Regions from separate parts of the Homo sapiens genome. Here region 1 is linked to region 2. Evidence: promoter capture Hi-C in 16 types of primary human blood cells and fetal thymus (Javierre and others, 2016). All regions are on one chromosome and are shown on one strand. The core of a region is centred on a gene start or on the middle of the fragment in contact, and the rest is flanking DNA. Distances in the headings are between cores, read along the strand shown.

Region 1 (5,802 bases), core at 1-2,500, 38 kb after region 2:
ACCACTCAGGCCTCTCTTGGAAGAACTGCATCGGGCTCCGGTGCTGGCTGCATAGGATTTGGGGAGCTGTGCTCAGAACTAGCAGCACGCGGCAGGTGCCGGCAGAAATCACAAATATCTGATGAACTTGATTACTTGGCTACTATTTATGAAAATAAATGTTCTCACGCCAATTGGAGGCTTCCCTAAAAGAAAACGGGTAGCTCTCCGGTTTAACTCTGAAGTACAACGTCTTGTTAGTTCACAAAGTAGGTGTAAGAAAGAGTTGTCCCAAACGCCCACCTCGCCCCTCTTCTCTACAACCTTTAACAGATTGCGGTGATTTTCGTTTTTGTTTACTGTTTTTTTTTTAATAGAAAAGTCCAGGTTGCTGGTTTTAGGGAAGTTAGTCCAAGGACATCTTCTAGGGGACGTGATCAATAACCCACTGGTAGAACTTCTTCCTCTTCAACCCTGGGCTGCGGACCGGGGCGCAGGATCCCCATTCGAAACTGTTGGTTCTGGGGCTGTTTCCCATTCTCCAGAGAAAGTGCAGGCCCGGGGTGTGCCCGAGAAAAGTGATGAGCAGTTGACCTCCCCTTCTCAACTTGGTCTGGAGGCTTCATCATATTTTCGGACGAAATGGGACAGAAGTGAGAATTAAAGCGGTTCTGAATAGACGACTGGCCTGAACCCAATCCCCTGAAATGGTAATATGGTTGTTATTTAAAAAGTGTAGGTATTTTCTGGTGTTTTCCCATCAAGTACCTGCCTAATTTCTGTATGGCACACGCCAGAAATCAATAGTAGTTAACAAGTCCTCCAAACAGTCTCCATCTCTTTGTTTAATCTCCTTTACAATAAAGCCAAGGGGAGAGAATTAAAAATCTTTGAAGTAGATCAAGGCTCAAAGGAATCAGCCAAGTAGACTTAAAGTAGTCACTTATTTCCCAAAACTGGTTTGTCGGGGAACAATAAAAGGAAGTAAAATTTATGGAGAAATTATACAGTGGATTTGTCACTTAAAATATCGTAACTGTCTGGAGGACAATACCCCATGCTGAGGATTAATGGTCCCGCCGGACCTTTGATTCACCAGTGCCTTTTCTTCGCCCTTGACAAATTGGATTTTTAGGAATGGGAAGGTCGCCTGGACCATTGTGTGCTAGCCATTCAGCGGCCTCGATTATGCAGGGGGCTGAGGGAACCACTCCATGTGACCCTCTCGGGTGGGACTCTGCAGCTGCTTCGCAGCGCAACTCTCTCACCAAACTCCGCGCCCTTGCGCTAGCGGTGCCAAAAGGCTCCCGCCCCGATTGAAAAGGCGCAGTGCATGCCCGCCCGCGTCACTCCGCGGGCGGAGGACGCACGTCGGGGCGCGGCTCTCTGGCTAGCGCGCAGCTCCAGCTCTGTCACTCGCGCCCTTCCAAGGACCTGGAGCACCCGAGCGCCTGCCTGGTGGCGGCGGCAACAATGCACGGAGCCGCCAGAGCGCCAGCCACCAGCGTGAGTGCCGACTGCTGCATCCCGGCCGGCTTGCGCCTCGGACCGGTGCCTGGTACCTTCAAGCTGGGCAAGTACCTGTCAGACCGCAGGGAGCCCGGGCCTAAGAAAAAGGTATTGACCATTCAGACCTCTGCCCACTGCCATTCGCCTCTCAGTGCCCTGACCCGGGAAAGGGGTACGAGAGAAAGTGGAGGAAGGGAGTGATTGAGTCGTTACCTGCTAATTCTGCCGGGTGGAAGGGGACTCCTATTATTCTGAGCAAGTAGCCTCTTTAACTGTGAGAGCTGGACGGGGTCGGGCTGAGAGGAGAGGATGTGGCCGAGAGGCGACAGCCCTGGGTGGGGTGCACTGAGCGCTGTAGGTGCCGGGACCATTCGCAGCTTGTGTTTTCCCCTGCGCTCTCGGGTCTCCTCAGTCAGAAGCCAGAAGCCCACCCCCGCACGCTGTCCGCAGCTCTCTCTGCAAAAGCACCCTCTTTCTGGGGGCTCAGGGCATCGAGACCCTTTCTTCCCTTCTGCCCTTCAATATGTTAATTTGAGGCCTAATTTCGCCTTAAAGTAATTTTTTTTCCTGAAAAAAAAAATCTTTGGGAGGCTCTCAGTTCCTAGAACCTCCTCAGATATTTTTTTTTCCCTTGCCGATGTCGGCTTGTGGGTATGCGGCATATGGAGAGAGGATGAGCAAGGTACTGGCTCTGACGCGGGCTCCAAGGGCGAGGCGCGCCCATTCGCGCGGGGCACAGGGTCAGAGCGTCTGCAGCGGGGCTCTGAGAGTCCAGAGGCCCAACCGGGAGGCGCCAGGGCCAAACCACTAGCTTTGACTCCCACACTCCACACACCGTCGCGACCCCTGACCAGAGAGACTTATAGCACTCGCCCGCTTTGGGGGCGTCCCAGGAGCCAAAGGTCGGCAAACAGCGACCGGGAAATGAAGGCAGAAGTCTGGGGTAGAAGAAAGGACTTTGGCTTCCTTGGCTTTAGCTTGCCTTGCTTGGAGCTTTCTAGTAAAAAGCTCCGGTGTCCAGCCAGCGGGACTTGCACCTCGCTCCTCCTGCAATCACGCCCCCCACTACAGTCTAAAGCGGGGTTTGGTGCCCACCGCGCATTCCTCTTTAAACGCGTTTTAATTGCTTTTAAATGGCCTGCCAGCTGCGGGCAAGCTTTTCCCCGCTTGGGCTTTGTTCCGAGACTTTAGCTGCAGGGCTCACAGGCAACTAGGTGCGATGCACACAGAATACAGGAGGCATGAGATAATTTTTTTGTTTGTTTGTCGGGGGTACGCTCTGGGCCCTGGGACTGACCTAGAAATGTCTCTACCGTGGTGTTACGGCTGCTCTCAGAACTGCAAATGGGAGAGCTGGGGTAGGGGACAACTTGGTACAAGATGTGCCTAAGCACTCAGGGAGGATGCTCTCAACACCCCTCTCCCCTCCCCGTGTCGTCAAGGTGGGGCGCAGGGAAGTGGGAGTACTGTTAGCATAGGTAGACTTTCCTCTTTCTCCCTCCCCGAAGCAAGGTCCTAAGGAATTCTCCTCCTCCCAGTAGCCCATAGTGGTCTGGCCAAACCAAAAACAACCACTTTCCTGTGTTGGGTTGGGGTGGAGGATAAACTTTCTGTTTGGGTTGTGGGCCTGGCCAAGGTGCGGGGGAGAACGACCACTGCTTGTGTTGCAGGTGCGCATGGTGAGAGGGGAGCTGGTGGACGAGTCGGGGGGCTCCCCTCTGGAGTGGATAGGGTTAATCCGGGCAGCCAGAAACTCCCAGGAACAGACTCTGGAAGCTATTGCAGACTTACCCGGAGGACAGGTACTGCGGGCTTCTCTCCACACCCCCCCACTCCCCACCGCCAATTCAGTCTACCTAACCGTCCCTGCGGTGGCCAAAAATATTAAGAGCAAAGTACTTTAGCTAGACGTCTCATTTAAACGTCTCGACAACCCTTTAAGGTAGTTACTATTGTTTTTCCGTTTGAAGGATGACGGAAGTGAGGTTCAGAGAGCTCCAGTAGCTTCTCCAGGGTCACACAGCATCAGAATCCGGATTTGAACCTTTCTTCTCAGTTGCTTTTTGACCGATTACCCAGGAAATGACATTGAACTGTTCTATTCCTTGCGTCCCAGATCTTCTACCGAGCATTGCGAGACGTCCAGCCAGGGGAGGAGCTGACAGTGTGGTATTCTAACTCCTTGGCTCAGTGGTTCGACATCCCCACCACAGCGACTCCGACTCACGACGAGAAAGGTACCCATTCCAAAAGCGTGGATGGGCAAAAGTCCAGCCCTCCTCCTCCTGTCTTGAAGCGAGTCCCTAGACATAGCTCGATCTATGTAAAATGGAATTCACATTCCCTGTATTTCAAGGCAAAGAGGAGAGAGGTCGCCACTACCTCCTTAAAATCAACCATAAACGATAACAGTGATAGTAGCAATCTGGCTCACAATGGCAGGGGAAAAAGTAGGCTCTATGAACTTAATGGGGCCATCCTTTTTCTGTTGCATATTCAAACAGACCATTATTTACTCAATTAAAATAAAAAAAATTAGGCGCGGTAGCTCACACCTGTAATCCCAGCACTTTGGGAGGCCGAGGTAGGAGGATCACTTGAGGCTAGGAGTTCGAGACCAGCCTGGGCAACATAGTGAGACCTCTGTCTCTACAACAAAAAAATAATTAGCCAGGTGCGGCGGTACATGCCTGTAGTCTTAGCTACTCAGGATGCTGAGGCAAGAGGATCACTTGAGCCCAGGAGGTCAAGGTTCCAGTGAGCCGTAATGTTACCACTGCATGCCAGCCTGGGTGACAAGTGAGACCCTGTCTCAAAATAAATAAATAAAAATAAAAAATAAAAAAGGAGCCTTAAGTTGTTGTTACAGTAATTACATCATGAGTTCCACAGAGTATAACTCAAACCTGGAATGCTTTTACAAAGTCCATGGACATTTCTTCTCCACTGGCTTTCCAGGAGAGCAGTGCATTTCTACAGCATTTTAGAAGTATTACGGTACTTACAGCTGGTCAGTTGGCAGGTACTGAGACCCTTCCATTTAAGTGGCATTTATTCATTTCCCCTTGCCTACTTAAGTTGAATCTGGGATGTATCCCAGTTTCTTCTCAGATTTATTTGATCCCTTCAAAGCCAAGAGCGGATTTATGCAAATTAAGGTGCAGTAACTAAACAGAAAAACATTTTTAAACCTACCCTTGAACACTGAAGAACACTTCCTGTGGAAAGAAGTCTAGGAGGTGCTAGAATAGTTGAGGTTTTGGAGACTTCCTTTTCACACACAAAGCTTCCATGGCTTTTTTTCTTTGACAATTGTCTGTAATTTCTCCTAAAGACACATTTAACATCAAAATAATGAATGCTGTGAAATATTCTAACATGCTGTCTTCCTGAATTGCCTGCTCAATCTCATCCCTTTAGAAATAGGTTTAGAGAAATCAATACAAGTATGTGAATTAGGAAACACTTCATGAATAACACAGAATGAAGTTTATTCAAAACAATGAATCACTTTAAAGTATCATCGTCCTCTGTAAGTTAATTCTGTTTATTTTGTAGGTATAGTATTCAAATTATCCTAAAATAGTTTGTTCCTTGCATCACATTATATTACATTCTCTTGTCAACTTCTTCCAGTAAAAAGAGAAGTATAATAAAAGCCACATAGTGGAGAACTCTCAAATCTGCCACTATAGAATTTGGCGGGCCACTAACCTTTAGAAGCCAGCCATTTCTACAGAGAACACCCTTTCTTAGGTAGTCCCAAATAGTACAAAAGCAACTGGAATAGCGGTCCTTGTGTTTTCCTTTCAGCCAATTGAGCTTATAAACATCATATGGTAACAGATGTCAAAATAAACATTTTTTTTTTCTGGAGGTGAGAAGGCATGGGTGATTTTGAACCCTGACTTCCCCAGCTTGGAGAAGTTTGAACTCTTGACCACCTTAGAGTTACATGAAGAGGAGGCAGTCACTTGTTAAATGTATTTGATACTCTTGGCATGATTTGGATCTCAGAGTCTGGAGAATATGTCAGTTAGGATAACTGAAAAAAAGTATATATTAAACGTATGCTGCTTAAAGCTTGGAAAGAGGAAGAAATAAATAGGGATGGCTGCTATCCTCCTAATACTAGCTAACTTCAGTGGGTTTCAATTTCATAGTAAGATGGAGGAAAATACTGCCCCCTCATTTTAAGAAAAAAGCTTATGTGGCTTTGCATTGAGCTGAGTCATTCTGCGGCAGACTCTGAAAACTCCCTCTTTCAAAAGGGGTGATGAGAGAGAGAAAGGCTCTGAAGTTAGAAGGAAGTTA
Region 2 (6,076 bases), core at 2,214-4,713:
TCCTAAAAAAGAATATCCATTCAAATTTTGTGATTACATTACATTTAAAGATCAATATGGGGAGAAATGACATCTTACCAAGAATTCAAACTCTATTAAAATCTGTATGTGCCACTATGGACTTTTAAAGTTTTCTTCCTACAGGTTCTGTATATTTCTTTATATTTTTCCCTCTGTATATTTTCTGTTGCTAATGTAAATTATACTTCTCTATCCATTTTTAAAAAGCTTTTATTTTTGCATTTTATAACTGGTCACCTTCCTAAACCTTTATTATTTCTAATAACTTCTCAATTAACTGAGTTTTCTCATTAATTTTATTTCCACGTATTGATAATTTTGTCCCTGTTTTGTCATTCTTTCTATATCTCCTTTGTATCAACTGTATTGACTAGCATATTGGTAAAATCTTAAATAGGCACCCTAATTATCTCAATGTTTCACCACTGCTGATGCTTTATGTTTTTCATGTTAAGGAAGCATCCTATTTCTGTTTTAGTAAGAGCTTTAGTCAAGGATAAATGTTGAATTGTATTAGTTTTTTAATACCTTTACTGCTTGATTTCTTAATATTGACTATATTTCTATAATAAAATCCAATGTCATGTTTTATACTTTCAATGTAATGTTAGACTGCATTTGGTAATAATTCATTTACAATGTTTGCATTAATATTCAAAAGTGAGACTGTTTTTAGTGTTCCCTTTGCTAGATTTTTCTGTGTTATCATGGCTTCATAAAGAGAATTAGAAAGCTTTTCTTCTTTCTGTATGAAATGGAACAATTTCAAAAGGAGATTCTCTTGAAAGATGGAAAGTATTTACCCATGAAATAACACATAGCTCTTGGGTAATACTCTTAACTTGCTTTGGCTTTCAAATTTAAAACCCTGGAGATAACCCAAAAGTACCCCTGGGTTTACTTTTCTCATTCCTAATTTTGTATTTTTGTATCATTCCTTTTTCCCCTGATTTAACTAGCAGTAGTTTGGTCTACTGTTTTTATTTACTCTAAGAATTAGCTTTTATAATTTTTTTCCTTTTAATATATTAGCATCGTTATCTATTTTAAGTCTTTCTGTTTCTTTAGGTTTATTTCATGTTTCCTTCTTAATATTATTAAATAGAATATTTCTATTATCTCTCAATTATTCAGGATATTGATTTTCTAATACATTCAAGCTTTGGTTACATTCCATATATGGTACTATTATGATGTTATTTTCTAGATAGTAAGTAACTGTATTTTCAGTTTCCTGTGGATACCAATAAAGTATCCACAGTTAGTTTTGTAGTTTTTATTTTTGTTACTTGTTCATTAATGCATTCAATTAACCAGCAAATACTTAGTGCCCTTCTAGTTCATTTTGGTCACAGACTGTGTTTTGTTCTACCTCAACTACACTGTGGTTTGCTAATTAATTTCATCCCCACAGAGTCATTTTATGTTTTTAAAAAGATAAATTTCACAAACATTTTATGAGTTTTCCTCACAGAACTCTGTATGGAGAATAAACTAAAAAACTTTATAAATACTGCATTTCATCAAATTTAAGATTACATCTAGGATTCATCATTATTTCATATGCTATGAAAGCAACTGCCATGCTGATTTCAAAGATGTTAAAGTGTGAAAACGTGCATCTTAGAAGCATGAAATATAGCATATTTAATATCAATTGCCCTCTTTCACCAAATTCACCTAAGACAATGGCCTTTCATAATCTTTTCGTTTGTTTTTCCAGAATTGTCTTGTCTTCCACACTCGTTACCTTTTCCAGATAAGAAACTCCATGACTGCTCAAGGGATTTGAGCAAGGCAAAGTGGTCCCTTCTTTTAGGACTATTTGAATTGGGAGAAAAGAATAGTTTCAAAGAAGTACACTTAACTTTATAATAATTTTATATTTGAAAAGTGAAAACATATTTTTAGAATGCTATGAATAAATGAAAGCATAATGAGAACACTATTGAAAATAAGGCAGGATCTTTTTTTTTTAAGTTGAAAAACTGAAAAATCAACAGTCAGCTACTTGTCAATTCTCTCAGCTTCTTTCAGAGTTTATCAGAATATCTCTTCTCCACTACCTAAACTTTTTTTTTCAGGAGCTCTAACTCCAATACCTAAACTTTCGATACTTTAATTTTGCCCAAGCAATATTTCAGTGTGTGAAAACAATGCAACATATATACACACACATATATATATACATACACACACACACATATATATACACACACACACATATGATCAGTGGTAAAGCTTCTTTAACATGTCATCTCCACAGAATCACTTTATAGCAAGAGGAAAACCTGCTTTTCCTTAAATAGGTTACTGAGTTCATTGTTTCTTTTTTTCTCTTTGCAAAGGGCTAAAAAATGAACATCAGGAACAGATCCTATTCACAGAATCGAAATTTAAATTACTTACTAATGCTTTCTTAGCATAAAAAATTATACCAAGATACCTTGTCAAATTCTGTTCATCTTTCAACTATACAGTGGAAAGCCTACTCAAATGTTCAATTTACCCCATAACGCACCTTCCTGCCTGCTTAAACAAATGTATTTAGGGATAAATGTTTTTAATATTATTCTAGCTCTCACATGGTCACTGACAGAAACAAGAACTTATTCATGAAAAAGGTTAAAGAAACAGGTAAACAAAGTCACTGGAAAAATAGGCCTTTAAAACAAAATATAAAGCACAGGCTAATGAAATGGATAAATTTAGAGGGCACCTGCCCTATACCTTATCAATATAAAACTCCATCTAGACATAAAGTACGCGCAAGAAGCGGTTAGTAGGCAGAAACAAGCCAGACTCTCTCCTCTCCTCATAATATTAAATCCACTCAAGATATACAGTGAATGACAAAAGACCACGACGCCGATCACCCGAAGAAACCCCAGGTAAAAGCACGCCACAACTGTCCTGAACAGGTAGCCTCACAGTCTTGAGCTGAGTCACACTTCCCGTACCTGTGCCCACTCTATCCGACCCCCCGCGGCCTAGCTAAACCAAGAATCCGAAATTAAACTCCGAAACGTTCCTTCCCGGGAGACGAAACTCTCTCCCACCCCTCCCCCTCACAGATCCTTCCCTCCCCGAAACTGGGGCTGGGGGCGGGGAGGGGAGTCGCCTCAGAAAAGCGCATCTTGATTCTGACCGCTGCGGTCTCCCGTGAGGACCCCGGCACTCGGAACTGAGCTGGGATCCAGGCCCAGGGGAGTCACAGGCCCCGTCCTCACAGCTCCCCCAAAAACCGGCCCCAGGTGAGAAGACGGAAGATCGCTTACTAGTGGGAGCTCTGCCAAAAGTTCCCTGCCATGGAACACAGCTTGCCCTGATAAAAAAGCACCAGCCGGCGGAGCGGCCCGCGGAGCGACCATAGACCCAGCCCGTCCGGTAACCGCGCTCCTCGATCAAATCAGCTCGGCTCGACTCCGCTCCGCGGCGGCGACGGCGAAAGGAAGAGGATGGCCCCCTAGTCTCCTTCACGCCGGCCGACAACACTCAACTGTGCAAACCCGTTCCTATCGACAAAAGTTCCGGCCCGCGGTAGCGGAGGGAGCCGGAGGGGAGGTGCTGACCCTTGGAGGTGCTGAGATTGAAGAGAACTAGTGTTCACGAGAGCTCGCGGCGGTTGGAAGGCTCTCGCGAGAGCGTCTTGAGAATTCTGGCCGGGGGCCCAAGCCGCTCGGTCTCCTGTCTTCAGCACGGGAGTTGCTGAGTGGGTCTAACCTAGGCGAAGTGGCTCAGATACGGGGTTCTGTTATTACCTCTTCCAGGACTTCAAAAACAGAACAATGTGGCATTGTAATAAAGTACAAGGTTTTGTGACTTATTTTTCCTGTGATTGGAAAGAGAAATAAATGAAGATGACTTTGTTCTCAGGGATCAAGTGTTCCTTTTTTTTTTTTACTTTATTTATTTATTTATTTTGAGACGGAGTCTTGCTCTGTCTCCAGGCTGGAGTGCAGTGGCACGATCCCGGCTCACTGCAAGCTCCGCCTCCAGGAGTTCAAGCGATTCTCCTGCCTCAGCCTCCCGAGTAGCTGGGACTGCAGGCGCGCACCACCATGCCCAGCTAATTTTTGTATTTTTAGTAGAGATAGGGTTTCACCATGTTGGCCAGGATAGTCTCAAACTCCTGACCTCGTGATCCGCCCTCCTCAACCTCCCAAAGTGCTGGGATTACAGGCGTAAGCCACCGCACCCTGCCTGTTTTTTACTTTTGAGACGGAGTCTGGGTCTGTCACCCAGGATGGAATGCAGTGGCACAATCTCGGCTCACAGCAACCTCTGCCTTTCCAGTTCAAATGATTCTGCTGCCTCAGCCTCCCAGGTAGCTGGGATTACAGGGATTACAGGCGCGTGCCACCACGTCCATCTAATCTTTGTATTTTTAGTGGAGAGGGGATTTCGCTAGGCTGGTCTGGAACTCCTAACCTCAGGTGATCCGTCAGCCTCAGCCTCCCAAAATGCTGGGATTAACAGGCGTGGGCTACCAGGCCCGGCCTGGATCAGGCGGTTTTTTTTTTTTTTTTTTTTTGAGACGGAGTCTTGCTCTGTCGCCCAGGTTGGAGTGCAGTGGCGCTATCTAGGCTCATTGCAACCTCTGCCTCCCAGGTTCAAGCGATTCTCCTGCCTCAGCCTCCCAAGTAGCTGGGACTACAGGCTCACACCACCACGCCCAGCTAATTTTTGTATTTTTAGTAGAGACAGGGTTTCACCATGTTGGCCAGGATGGTCTCCATTTCCTGACCTCGTGATCCGCCCACCTCGGCCTCCCAAAGTGCTGGGATTACAGGCGTGAGCAACCGCGCCCGGCCGCGATCTTTTTTTTTTTTTTTTTTGAGACGGAGTCTCGCTCTGTCGCCCAGGCTGGAGTGCAGTGGCGAGATCTCGGCCGCGATCTTAATGGAGTTATTTTGGAGTGATAAAGTGCAAACTTACAGAGCAGCGGAATCAACAGTTTTGCAGAACATCTAAAAATATTCATGCATATATGTATGCACATGTATGTACATGTATGCACCTAATAGAAACATACTGCAAAAAAAGCCATAATTTAATTTTACAAGACGAAATATTTTGTATTTTCCATTTCATTTTCATTGTAGCAATGCATTTATTGTAAAACTTATAATTATTTTTCTAAATAATTGGACACTCCAGAAACTTGTTTATAGACAGTCAGCATCTGAGGCAACTTAAGACAGTATTTTTCACATTGTAGGTGGAGACCAATTAGGGTGTGGTAAAATTAAGTATAATCATTTTCCTAAATAGAACAGAAAATACTAGGTAAATCAGAAATAGCAAGGATATTATATTTAAATTTGGTTCAGTTATATATGTGTGTATATACATACACAAACACACATATACACACACAGTCAAGATGTGAAATGCATTTGTTTGTATGTGAGAATTAGTCTGCATCAGGTGTGGTGGCTCACGCCTGTAATCCCAGCACTTTGGGATGCCGAAATGGGCGGATCACTTGAGGTCAGGAGTTTGAGACCAGCCTAGCCAACATGGTGAAACCCTGTCTCTACTAAAAATACAAAAATTAGCGGAGTGTGGTGGCGTGCACCCGTAGTCCCAGCTACTCGGGAGGCTGCAGCACAAGAATCGCTTGAACCCAGGAGGCAGAGGTTGCGGTGGGCAGAGATTGTGCCACTGCACTCCAGCCTGGACAACAGAGTGAGACTCCAAATCCAAAAAGAAAAAGAAAAAAGAATGAATTAGTCTGGATAAGCTACACTAGGTGAAATTGTGGTAACACCTCCCCACCCCCACCCCTAATCAGCATAGCTTAACATCAAAGTATTTTACATGTCATACGTCACTCCCATAAAGTCCCATAAAGTCGGCTTGCTCTCCTTGGTGGTTGTCTTCCAGATTTTCAAGAATGTAATATTTATATATCCTTCAATTACTCCATCTTGATGGTCTTTACTTCTAGGTTTAAAATCTTTCTAGAGAGAGCACAGAGGACTCATACTAACTCTTACCCAGGGTTAAGAGCCTTGAAACAGAAACAACCCAATCACTTTCTCTCATGGGC

What was found. The method cuts DNA at HindIII sites, captures the fragments that hold promoters and counts their contacts. A CHiCAGO score of 5 or more calls a contact.
Region 1: the fragment with the promoter of PRDM13 here is called in contact with the fragment with the promoter of CCNC in region 2 in 6 of 17 cell types (naive CD8 T cells, monocytes, activated CD4 T cells and 3 more); the score reaches 7.5 in naive CD8 T cells.

The regions. Positions count from the first base shown.
Region 1 is chr6:99,605,583-99,611,384 of GRCh38, forward strand. It overlaps PRDM13 (PR/SET domain 13), which reads left to right and starts at 1,251. Exons shown (of 4, transcript NM_021620.4): 1 at 1,251-1,596; 2 at 3,159-3,290; 3 at 3,605-3,725. The coding sequence starts at 1,453. The HindIII fragment of the contact is 6,161 bases long and covers 1-2,642 here.
Region 2 is chr6:99,565,197-99,571,272 of GRCh38, forward strand. It overlaps CCNC (cyclin C), which reads right to left and starts at 3,464. Exons shown (of 12, transcript NM_005190.4): 1 at 3,300-3,464. The coding sequence starts at 3,331. It also overlaps the pseudogene TSTD3. RefSeq lists enhancers at 3,162-3,241, 3,362-3,651, 3,772-3,821. The HindIII fragment of the contact is 11,578 bases long and covers 2,261-6,076 here.